Regions from separate parts of the Homo sapiens genome. Here all the other regions are linked to region 2. The links are contacts of gene promoters, found by promoter capture Hi-C in human tissues and cell types (Jung and others, 2019). All regions are on one chromosome and are shown on one strand. The core of a region is centred on a gene start or on the middle of the fragment in contact, and the rest is flanking DNA. Distances in the headings are between cores, read along the strand shown. Region 1 overlaps UAP1 (UDP-N-acetylglucosamine pyrophosphorylase 1). Region 2 holds the start of HSD17B7 (hydroxysteroid 17-beta dehydrogenase 7). Region 3 overlaps DDR2 (discoidin domain receptor tyrosine kinase 2). Region 4 holds the start of UAP1 (UDP-N-acetylglucosamine pyrophosphorylase 1).

Region 1 (2,700 bases), core at 114-2,613, 200 kb before region 2:
TGGGTGTATGCTCTCAGTATACAGGCTGATTGTTCCTGTCATATTTGATGGCCCTTAATATGGAGAAAACTGTTCTGTTGATTTATTCTCACACTAACAGCTCTCCTTTTTGGTCACTGCATTAATTTTAGTCAGTTACTTTCTTGCTTCTAAAGAATCTTTTTATCTTAATGGCAGATCATTTTTAGTTAGAAGTAACACATATCCTCTCCCATCTGGGTACTGACAGAGTTTGGAAAAGCCATTATCTTTATAGTTTAAGAGACAGCTTGATGTTATTGTTACACTTTGAAAGTTAAAGTTTTTAAGGTTGGGTGCGGTGGCTCACACCTGTAATCCCAGCACTTTGGGAGGCCAAGGCAGGCAGATTACCTGAGGTCAGGAGTTCGAGACTAGCCTGGCAAACATGGCGAAACCTCATCTCTACTAAAAATACAAAAATTAGCTGGTGTGGTCATGCACGCTTGTAGTCCCAGCTACTCAGGAGGCTCAGGTGGGAGAATCACTTGAGCCTGGGAGGCAGAGGTTGCAGTGAGCTGAGATCGCACCATTGCACTCCAGCCTTGGTGACAGAGCAAGACTCCATCTCAAAAAAAAAAAAAAGAAAGAAAGAAAAAGTTTTTAAGGTAATTTGGGAAATATATGCAGGGCAAAAGATCTGGAGATGGAAGTTATCTCAGAAATAGAGTAGCACCTTCATCAGTGTCACCCACGTGCTTTTTCCTGTCTGTGCCATTCCTCTGCCCAGACAAATTCCTGTGAGTGTCAGTGTTTCTGGGATGTGATTCTGTAAACAAGGAAGTGGACTCAAAGATCTGATCAATTTCTTATAGGTGCTGTAGATCAGCGGTCTCCAACCTATTTTGGCACCAGGGACTGGCTTTGTGGAAGACAATTTTTCCACAGACTTGGGGTGGTGAGGGTGGTTTCAGGATGATTCAAGCATGTTACATTTATAGTACACTTTATTTCTATTATTATTACATTGTAATGAAATAATTATACAACTCACTGTAATGTATAGAATCAGTGGGAGCCCTGAGCTTGTTTTCCTGCACCTAGGTGGTCCCATTTGGGGATGATGGGAGACATCATCAGGCATTAGACTCTCATAAGGAGCACACAACCTAGATCCCTTACATGGGCAGTTCACGATAGTGTTCACATTCTTAAGAGAATCTGTTGCGGCCACTGATCTGACAGGAGGTGGAGCTCAGGCAGTAATGTGAGTGGTGGGGAGCATCTGTAAATACAGATGAAGCTTTACTCACTTGCCCACTGCTCATCTCCTGGTGTGTGATCCAGGTCCTAACAGGCCACAGAGTAGTACCGGTCCATGGCCCAGGGGTTGGGGACCGCTGCCATAGATGACTGTTGTCTCTCCTGCCTTGGGAACTGGGATGCAGAGCCCTTTATCACTTTCTGTCTCATCCACCATTTTTAATATATGGAAGCAAGCTGCTTTTATATTTAAGAAATAAAACTTTGATTAAATTTCTTTGTCATTGAACCATAGCTTTTAACCTAACAGTGTAATAGATTGTTAATTATATAACTGAAGACAGCATCTAGCTATCTTAGTTAAGATACAAAAAGCTTTAAACATTATTCTTACTCTTTTGTTTAATATCCCCCATCGCCCAGTTTACTTCATTTTAGCCATTTATAGAATAATTAAAGTGAAATCAAAGTTTGGCTTTAAATGATACCATGCACTGAAAAAGAGTTCCTGCGTAATCCTTAGCACCAAAGGATGACCTTACACAGCTGAAGAACATCATGTAATTGTGAGAGATGAAAAGGAAGTATATTATGTAAAAGAGGGAAGAAGCAACTAGGAGGTATTCTGAAAGAATGGAAACAACCATGCTGAGTTTTGACTCGATATTATTTTTATTTCTCACCTTAATGCTTACTGAATAGTGTTAGCTACCAAAAGGATGCATGGCTAAAGAATTGTGGGGCAGTAGGTTTATTGGGCTAATTTGCTTATATCCTGAGATTTTACATTTGGTGATGGTAGCTTCTGTTTTCCCTCCTTCAGGGCATCCAATTTTGTTTACTGAAGTTCACTCCTTAGTTTCTTGGGGTATCTTTGTGGTAGTAGAATGGAAGTTACATATTCAGGCCAGCTGTATATGTGTTTCTTGGGTTCACAACCACCTTCTGTTCCTGCTACACTGAATCCTTCAGGGGTTTAGGTGGGACTGGGCTATATACATCTTAATGGGGTGGGCCCTCATTTTTTCCTTTTTTTTTCCTCGGCATGCCTACTCAAGATTCATTTGGTTTTGTATGACTTTGAGTTGCCCCAGAAGGTCTGGACTAGACCTCTTGAGCTCTTGTGGTAGAATCTGGCATGTATGTAGAGAGGTGTGTGCCCCACTATGCCTCCTCTTTTCCCTTCATTAGTTTGTCATCATTTTCATAGTGTTATTTGTTCAGACAACAAGCATTCGTAGGCCTGCTCATAGGTTTATAGGTGCTATTAGTATCCTAGGTGCTGAAGTATCTTATACAAGAGAAATAAGTCACTTCTTACAGACTACTGGGATGTTCAAGATGCACATACATAAAAGTTAAGTAACATTTTCAGGCAGTATGTGATTATGTGCTAAATGTGTGCTATAGCAATAATTACTCTGGGAGGCAGTGACTTAGCAGGTGTCTAATACATTTATTTTTTATTTATTATTGTTA
Region 2 (2,760 bases), core at 129-2,628:
AGGCTCCAGAGGAAGGTTTTCAGGACTCAGACCTTAGTTACAGATTAAAAGAAGTTAATCACTTATGTCTTTAGATAAATGCACACTTACACATAGACAGTTCGCTTAGAAGGCATATAAGCTCTGAAAAACTGTAATTTTGAGTTGGTCTGGTGATAATTTCCAGGCCTTCTCCCTGCAACCGGTTACAGAAATAAAAACTCTCTTCCTCCCCAGCTCATCTGCATCTCGTTATTGGGCCTTGAAAAATAGCAGCCCAACCCTCAGTTTGGTCTGAGAACAGAAGGTTGTAGGGAGAGTAGCCTTTGATCCTTTGCTACTGGGGAGTGGGGAGATGGGGTTTTTCCTTCTGGTTTAGCTTTAGGAAGTTGGTGTTAATTGACCCTAGGCTCTCGGCCCCCAGACCCAGGTGTTTTCCTTTTGATCCAGCTTTGGGAAGCCAGCACCAATTGGTCTCAGATTCCCTACTTCCAGCCCTTGCTGTTTTTCCTTGATTGAGCTTTAGGAAGTCAGCACGAAGTGGCCTTAAGTACCCTGCCTCCAAACCCTATTCTGCCTCATTTTGGCAGAGTACTTTTATATGTCTTGGATCTAATAATAAAATATCGGGGCTTGTGTTTTGTATGCCTTTTGCTTTTCTTTTTCTAGCACTTTATTTTTTTGTATTTTCTAAAAGCACCCATCTGGGATGGCTTGGAGACAAAAACAGGTCCTTTAGCACAGTTTGAGATGCACTGATACAGAAGGTTACAGCACATTCTCAGTACTTCGGAGAATGAAGTTCTGAGATTCTGATTCCACGCCACATTCCAAGTTTTGAATACTGGTAATTTACGTCTGATTCTACATAAAGTTCTTAATAAAATCAGTGCTCATTTTCTCAAATAAGCTTCTTTAGAGGAGGAGGTCTGGGATCAAAAGTTGGGCTGTGAAGTGGCACAATGCCTGGATCTGTACATCCAAAAAGGAGTGGAAAATTAGATGATAATCGCCCAACTTTGGCTCCTAGACCCAAACCTTTTCTCTAAAATGGGCACTGGTGCAAATACCGTGAGGCCTTCCTGCAAAGAAGTGCCAATCTCAGGCGCCAGGGCACAGACCCAGTGCGTGTCACAGATCCTGTCCTGAGTGCTAGGCCGGGTGACGCCCCCACCAGGATTAAAGATCAGGCGCCCGCTGAGCCCTAGGAAGCAGTGACAGACACCTGCGCCTAGGCGGAGCGAGAAGAGCCTGGAATGGCTCCGGGCTTTGCGTCACGCAGCTCCGCCCCTCGGCCTATCTCACCCGACGCCGTCTCCGAGGGCAGGGAACGGTTGGCGGACTGAGATTGGAGGGATCAGCTCAGACTCGATGACGCAACGGGAGGCGGGGCGTGGCCGTACTCTGATTGGTGACGGGTGAGGCGGCCCGAAATCGTAGGACTTCCGAAAGCAGCGGCGGTGTTTGCTTCACTGCTTGGAAGTGTGAGTGCGCGAAGATGCGAAAGGTGGTTTTGATCACCGGGGCTAGCAGGTGAGGCCTCCTTTGGGTTGGCAGAGGCGGCAGCGGATCAGGGGTCCGAGAGAGCAGGGGTCTGCGACCCTCCACGAACGGACCCCGGAAGCGCCCGCCCCTGGCTTTGCCTAGGTTCCCCGGAGTCTGCAGCAGGTGTGGGGCATGTCGGCCTCTTGAGGTGCTCAGTAACTGGTGCTTTGTATTAAACATGACAGTGAAAAGGAAAACTAGAGCATCAGTAAGTGATGAGTGTCGCAGTGATGATCCTGAGGTTATCAAGGCAATGGGGTACTCAGGCGGGCTCCGCCCCTTTTCCATCTTTGCCTACTGTTCGTATTTATCGTCAGTGCCCAATATTTTGCTCCTGACCACGTGATCATGTCTTATACTCCAGGTGTTTTGTCTGTACAAGCCTTTTGCCTACAAATTTGAACACCCATGAACATTAGGACGGTGGAGAGAAAACAATCCCGTTTCATTTAGCTCAGTGCTAGAGAGCTAACATACTCTTCAGAAACCCAGAGAAAATTAATCTTTTCCTATGAAGGCATGGTTGGGGTGCAGAATAACCAGCTCATAATAATTCCAGGGTTGCTCGTTTAGTCTCTCAGCCTCTTCTGTTGCTTGTTTTACCTGTCATTTGCACTTCTGTGAAAAATGTGTGGAGGATGAAGCCAATCAAACCATTTTTCTACTAGTTGCATTTGGCATTTTTAAATGATTAAGACAGAGGACATGTTAAACATTTAAGATTGATCCACTTTCAATTATTTAACCACATGCGTATTAACTAAGCCAGCTTGGTAGGTGTCTGCATTTGGCAACTTTTTAGCATACCCTCTCAAGTGACTTTAACCGTTGATTGGTGCTTCTTATGTGGAAGGTACTGAGTAAGTCAGAATTGATTTTGTCTGTTTCTTTTACATATATTGTGACATGTGCAATTGTATATTAAATGCCTACTGTTCTCATGTGAGGACAAATAAATATTTTTGATGCTTTGTTGTTGGTGCTAATAGATTACTGATGGTTCCAGGCTCTTTTTGGGTTTTAACTATTAACATATTTGCCTGGAATCAGCTTAAGTCTTGAAAGAGAACTTATTACCCAGCTTTTCATTGCTATCAGCCAGGCTGGTCTGACTGCTGTCACCACTCCTATGCGGTTTTACAATGCTGGTTTTGAAGTTCTTTGTTTCCAAGTGGTGTACTCATCTAATATTTAGTGTATTCCTACCTTCTACTTAATCATGTTGAGTTCTTTCTT
Region 3 (2,755 bases), core at 99-2,598, 150 kb before region 2:
CCCGGCCTGGGACTGTACTTCTTATCATCACCATTGTCTTTGTTGCCATGGTCTTCATTATTATCATCATAATTATGGCTATCGTTCTATGTCTAAATCCAAGCATTAAAGAACAAACTCCCATATCCCCATGGTAAGGTTGGAGAAGTGCGTGCAAGTGTGTCTATGTGTGTTTTTGGCAATTTTAAAGTACAGTCACACCAATATATGCCACTTCCATTTCTTGCTGGAAGTAAAATGAGTGACTACTTGGGCTTTGTAAAAGAAAATCGCACTTTGGAAGTCCTTGTGGGAGCCATACCAAAATGCCTTGCAGTACTGTAACTTCTCAGAGGCATGTAAAAGTTAGAGGATTGGTGAAGTTTTCAAAAGCTACTGGCACTTGTCCTTCAGGATGAACCCTCTTGAGATGCAGGGGAGCAAATTGACCTCAATAAGAGAGTAGTGGGAGCTAAATTCACTCAAGAATAGCAATCTGTTCCTCAGACAGATGCAGTTGTAATTTTAGAATGTGTACATAACAGACAGTTTAAAATGGACATAATAACGCTAAAATAGTATCAATGGAAATTAAAAATAAGTCCTAATCCCAACCAAAATTCTAGCAAGTTGTTTTGTGGATATCAACGAACTGATTCTTTTTTTTTTTCTTTTTTCTTTTTCTATCTTTGAGACGGAGTCTTGCTCTGTTGCCCAGACTGGAGTGCAGTGGCGCAATCTCGGCTCAGTGCAACCTCCACCTCCCAGGTCCAAGTGATTCTCCTGTCTCAGCCTCCTGAGTAGCTGGGATTACAGACATGCACCACCATGACTGGCCTCAACCAGCTGATTCTAAAGTTTATATAGACAGTTAAAAGACCAGATTAGCTACTGCAATATTGAATGAGAACAAAGTCAAAGGACTGACAGTACCTGACTTCAAGGCTTACTGTAAAGCTCTGGTAATCAATACATTGTGGTACTGGTGAAAAAATAAACAAATAGATCAAGAAAACAGAATAGAGAGCCCAGATAGACCCATATAATGTAGCCAACTGTTCTTTGACAAAGGAGCAAAGGCAATCTGATGGAGAAAAGGTAGTATTTTCAACAAATGGTGCTGGAACAATTGGACATCCACATGCAAAAATAATGAATCTTAGGTATAAACCTTACATCCTTCACAAAAGCAACTCAAAGTGGATCATAGACCAAAATGTAAATGCAAAACAATGAAACTCATAGAAAATAACATAGGAAAAAATCTCAGTAATCTTGGATATTGTGATGACTTTTTAGTTACAGCACCAAAGGCACTATCTGTGAAAGAAATCCCTGATTAGCTGGACTTCATTAAAATTGTAAACTTCCACTCTGTGAAAGACAATGTCAAGAGAATGAGAATACAAACCACAGGTTGAGAAAAATACAGATGGTGCTGACTTAAAACGGTTCAACTTACGATTTTTCAACTTTACGACAGTGCAAAAGTGATACTCATTCAGTAGAAATAGTACTTCGAATTCTGAATTTCATTGGACAAAACTATGGAAACAGTAAAAACTATTCGTAGTTGCCAGGAATTAGGGGTGAGGGAGGGATAAATTGAACACAGAGGATTTTTAGGGTAGTGAAACTGTTCTGTGGTTACTACAATGGTGGATGTATGTCATTATACCTTTGTCAAAACCCATAGAATGTACAACACTGAGAGTGAACCCTAAGACAAACAATGTACTTTGGGTGAAATGATTTTTTTTTTTTTTTGAGATGAAGTCTTGCTCTGTCGCCCAGGCTGGAGTGCAGTGGTGTGATCTCGGCTCACTGCAACCTCTGCCTCCTGGGTTCAAGCGATTTTCCTGCCTCAGCCTCCTGAGTAGCTGGGATTACAGGCGTGTGCTATCACGCCCAACTAATTTTTGTATTTTTAGTACAGACAGGGTTTCACCATGTTGGCCAGGCTGGTTTCGAACTCCTGACCTCATGATCTGCCCCCCTCAGCCTCCCAACGTGCTGGGATTGCAAGTGTGAGCCACCGCGCCCAGCTGAAAATGATGTGTTGATATCACAGACCATTAGGTTTATTGATAGGCTTATTGATTGTAATAAATGTGCCAATGTCGTGAGGGATGTCAATAGTGAGGGAGGTTTTGTAGCAGAGGACAAGGGTGTATATGGGAACAATCTGTACTTTCTGCTTAATTTTGCTGTGAACCTACAACTGCTTTAAAAAGAATTAAAGTTTAATTTAAAAAATCTGCCCAATCTCCAAATTCTAATACTTTGATTCCATCTTGGCTACTTCTTTCTTATTTGAAGGCAGTCATTGTAATATAGTTATAATCATGAGCATCTGTATTTTAAAATGCTTAATTTTGTTTTTCAGATAAGTACCCTAAACTTAAATGATATTATTTTATTTATTAAAGCTACCTGAGGCAGAAATGTTTCAAAATCTTGAAAAAGACTAATTCAATAGGTTAATAGCAGATAAGTAGGTATTTTTGTGTCATACTCTTCAAATTATAATAACTATCACTTAAAGAATAGTCATTTTTGTTCGTTTGTGATCCTTCCACCTCAGCCCCTCGACTAGCTGGGACTATATGTGCGTACTACCACACCTGGCTAACTGTTGTTTTTTGTAGAGATGAGGTTTCACTATGTTCTTCAGGCAGGTCTCAAACTCCTGGGCTCAAGCAATCCTCCCACCTTGGCTTCTCAAAATGCTAGTATTACAAACATGAGCCACTGGACCCACCCTCATTGAGCTGTT
Region 4 (2,700 bases), core at 199-2,698, 230 kb before region 2:
ACTGATAGCACAAGTAGCTTGCCAAAGATCACAAGCAATAAAGCTGAAATTGTCTTCAGATCCCATGATTAAGAAACCAATCACTACACTATAAACCAATCACTACACTATTCTTCTTTCAAAGAAACGAAGGAAGTTCTAGGATCATGAGAGATGGAGAGTATTCAATCTCCTGAATGTAAATCTACCAGCATTACTTACCAAGTTTAAGTTTTTCTGTTGTTACTTGAGGCAGTGGGTGATTATGCAATTGGTAAAGGGAATGAAAAGGCCTTTGCACCCAAGAAAGTAGAAGAAAGGCGCCTGAATCTCTTTATGATAGGTGGTATGTTAAATCTAGGTATTTTCGTATTTCAACATATTCCACTTCTTGCAAAAGCTGCAAAATGCAACACAACTTTAAATGTAAACATAGCTTCCAAGGGCACAGTGCTGAACATATAATAACCTGTGTGTGCACACCCACACTAGGTTATGTAACAGGACTGTAAACACTGGTCCTGGAATGGCCTGGGAGGTCATCTAGGTCCTCCACCATCTTTCTGCAGAGTACTGAGGCCTAGCGACGTTAAGTCTGCAAACTCACAAAGATGACCCCGGGCTTATACTACCTTAGGTTACCTACTACCTTTGCTTGCATTTCCTCTCTCCTTTCCTGTCTGTTTGTGCAAAAGAAAAAAGGCCTGGCTTCGCCTTCTTGGGAGCCAAAACACAACCAAACAGAGAGCGAGTTTGGAGCCCGGCCAGGCATCTTGTGAACTGCACACAAAATAACTAGCCCAAGGTCAGAGAGCGCGCCAGGCCCGCCCTGAAAGTTTCTCCGCAGGAAAATCCACCGCCCTTTCCCAACCACCCGCGTGGGTGGCTCGGAAATCCGCCACCCTGGGGACACAGCTCCCTGCCCATCTCTGTGGCCCGCTTGTGCCCCGTGCCGCTGGGCCGACTAAGAGCCTCGGGCTCGCACCTCCCAGTACAACCTAGGGACGTCAGGGGTCCTGGGACCCACGAGCCGCTCTCTGCCGGCCGGCTCCTGGCCCCTCCTAGCAGACCCAACCGACATCCTTCACCCTCAGTTAGTGCGCAGGAGGGACCGGGACGCCAGCCGACTGCGCTCCAGAACTATTCCCATTGGGCCAGAGAATGAGTGACGCACTAGGCCCCGCCCCGGCCCGGTGGGTTACTCCTTTCATGCCCGGCCCCCATCCCTAGCCCCGCCCCGGCGCCCCGGGCCGCGGCCGCCTCCGCGTCCGCGTCGTCGTCTGTGCTCCCGGCGCTGACGTGTCTGGGCGGTCGGCTTCCACTCCTTCAGGCGTCGGCAGCCACTAGTCGTGGCGAGAGGGGCGGGGTGGCCGGGGCTGGCGCTCCACTTGGCCCCCGCTCCCGGCCCGCCCCGCCGCCGCGGCCCCCCGGATGAGGGTATATATTCGGAGCGAGCGCGGGACGCCGATGAGTGGCCGCGCGGAAGGAGCTGGAGACGGTCGTAGCTGCGGTCGCGCCGAGAAAGGTGAGGGGCTCCCAGCCCAGCGAGGAGACGGCGGGGCTCGGGACCCGGGCGGGCGGAGGGCCTGGCCCCACCGCACACACGGCCACGCGCTCAGACGTGGACACGCGTCGCACGAACGTGCACAGCGCGGGCAGCCGAGCACACGCCGAGGAGCCTCCCGCTCGCCCGCAGACACACACCCCAGCCCGTGCGCCCCGCAGTCGCACCCCATCCTCCGCCACCCCGCGAGAGGGTGTGTGGGCTGGGCAGCCGGGTGGATGGCGGGGCCAGGGATGGAATGAGCGCGCCCCAGATGGACTGGGGGCGTTGTGGGAGGAGGTCTGGGCCAGTGTCTGAGTCCGAGGGGGTCGTGTAGGCGTGTGGGGTTGGGAGTGGGGCCTCTCCCGGGTGGGCAGTAGAGACCTCGAGGCTCTCAGGCTAGGGCCTTGTGGACAGTTATACCAAGTGTGGGGGCCTGTAGTGGGACAGGAGATCGTTGGCACTGTCAGGTGGAAGCGAGTTGGTGTGTCTTGAATATATGAGGAAAAGATTTGAGAGGTCTGACAAAGACAGGGGATACATTTGGAGGACAGGACAGTGGGACAAAACCTGTTTGCTTGCCACTTTTTTCTTTCTTTTTTTTGGTTTGGTTTGCCATGATACTGGTAGTGAGAGAGAATTGAAATTTCTGGGTTTCCCCTCTCTTGGCCAAGCAGAAGGATGGTATTGGAGGGCTGAGCACACGTATGCTGAACATATGGCTGCTTGAACTTTGGCCTGTCGCTGTGCTACACTTACTTCTACATGGTTTATGAAATCTGAAATCAGGTAATAGGATTATGATCATATGTGTGTGTCATTTGGTATTGCAAAAGTTTAAGGACTTTTAGGTGAAATTCACTGGGTGTGGATCCAAGAGTTCGCCGGAAACTCAAGGCAGTTGTCTATTCCTTCACGGTTAGTCAGTTGGCTCACTTAGCTGGAGCAAAGAAAGACTTCATAGGCTGTGCTGCCAAGCATTTATAGGATTCAGTTGGTGGTTATGTCTCAACTCTGATACTGTTTTTCAAAAGCTTTAAGAGGTTTACTTATTCATTTCGAGGGCATACGTATACCAGCAGAGATAGGGGCTGGGTGGGGGAAGCCAGAAAAGGAGGGAGAAATACTGGATTTCTTTAATACTGGTATTTAAATTCTAATAAAAATATATTTGATAA

The links. Contacts are between HindIII fragments. The study calls those that stand out against the background at their distance.
Region 1: a fragment that was not itself captured here is called in contact with the fragment with the promoter of HSD17B7 in region 2 in 2 of the 25 tissues and cell types used here (aorta and hippocampus).
Region 3: a contact is called between a fragment that was not itself captured here and the fragment with the promoter of HSD17B7 in region 2, in 1 of the 25 tissues and cell types used here (mesenchymal stem cells).
Region 4: the fragment with the promoter of UAP1 here is called in contact with the fragment with the promoter of HSD17B7 in region 2 in 1 of the 25 tissues and cell types used here (hippocampus).

The regions. Positions count from the first base shown.
Region 1 is chr1:162,593,159-162,595,858 of GRCh38, forward strand. The region is part of intron 9 of UAP1 (UDP-N-acetylglucosamine pyrophosphorylase 1); the gene reads left to right. Among named protein-coding and RNA genes, the nearest start is that of UAP1, 33 kb to the left of the region's middle. The HindIII fragment of the contact is 3,411 bases long and covers 1-2,700 here.
Region 2 is chr1:162,789,324-162,792,083 of GRCh38, forward strand. HSD17B7 (hydroxysteroid 17-beta dehydrogenase 7) reads left to right here and starts at 1,379. Exons shown (of 9, transcript NM_016371.4): 1 at 1,379-1,512. The coding sequence starts at 1,478. RefSeq lists a silencer at 1,307-1,366. The HindIII fragment of the contact is 13,139 bases long and covers 1-2,760 here.
Region 3 is chr1:162,638,314-162,641,068 of GRCh38, forward strand. All of the region lies in intron 1 of DDR2 (discoidin domain receptor tyrosine kinase 2), which reads left to right. Among named protein-coding and RNA genes, the nearest start is that of DDR2, 7.2 kb to the left of the region's middle. The HindIII fragment of the contact is 5,394 bases long and covers 1-2,755 here.
Region 4 is chr1:162,560,274-162,562,973 of GRCh38, forward strand. UAP1 (UDP-N-acetylglucosamine pyrophosphorylase 1) reads left to right here and starts at 1,449. Exons shown (of 11, transcript NM_001324116.5): 1 at 1,449-1,504. UAP1-DT (UAP1 divergent transcript) reads right to left here and starts at 1,080. Exons shown (of 3, transcript XR_426859.4): 1 at 965-1,080; 2 at 202-379. RefSeq lists a silencer at 1,038-1,937. The HindIII fragment of the contact is 20,893 bases long and covers 1-2,700 here.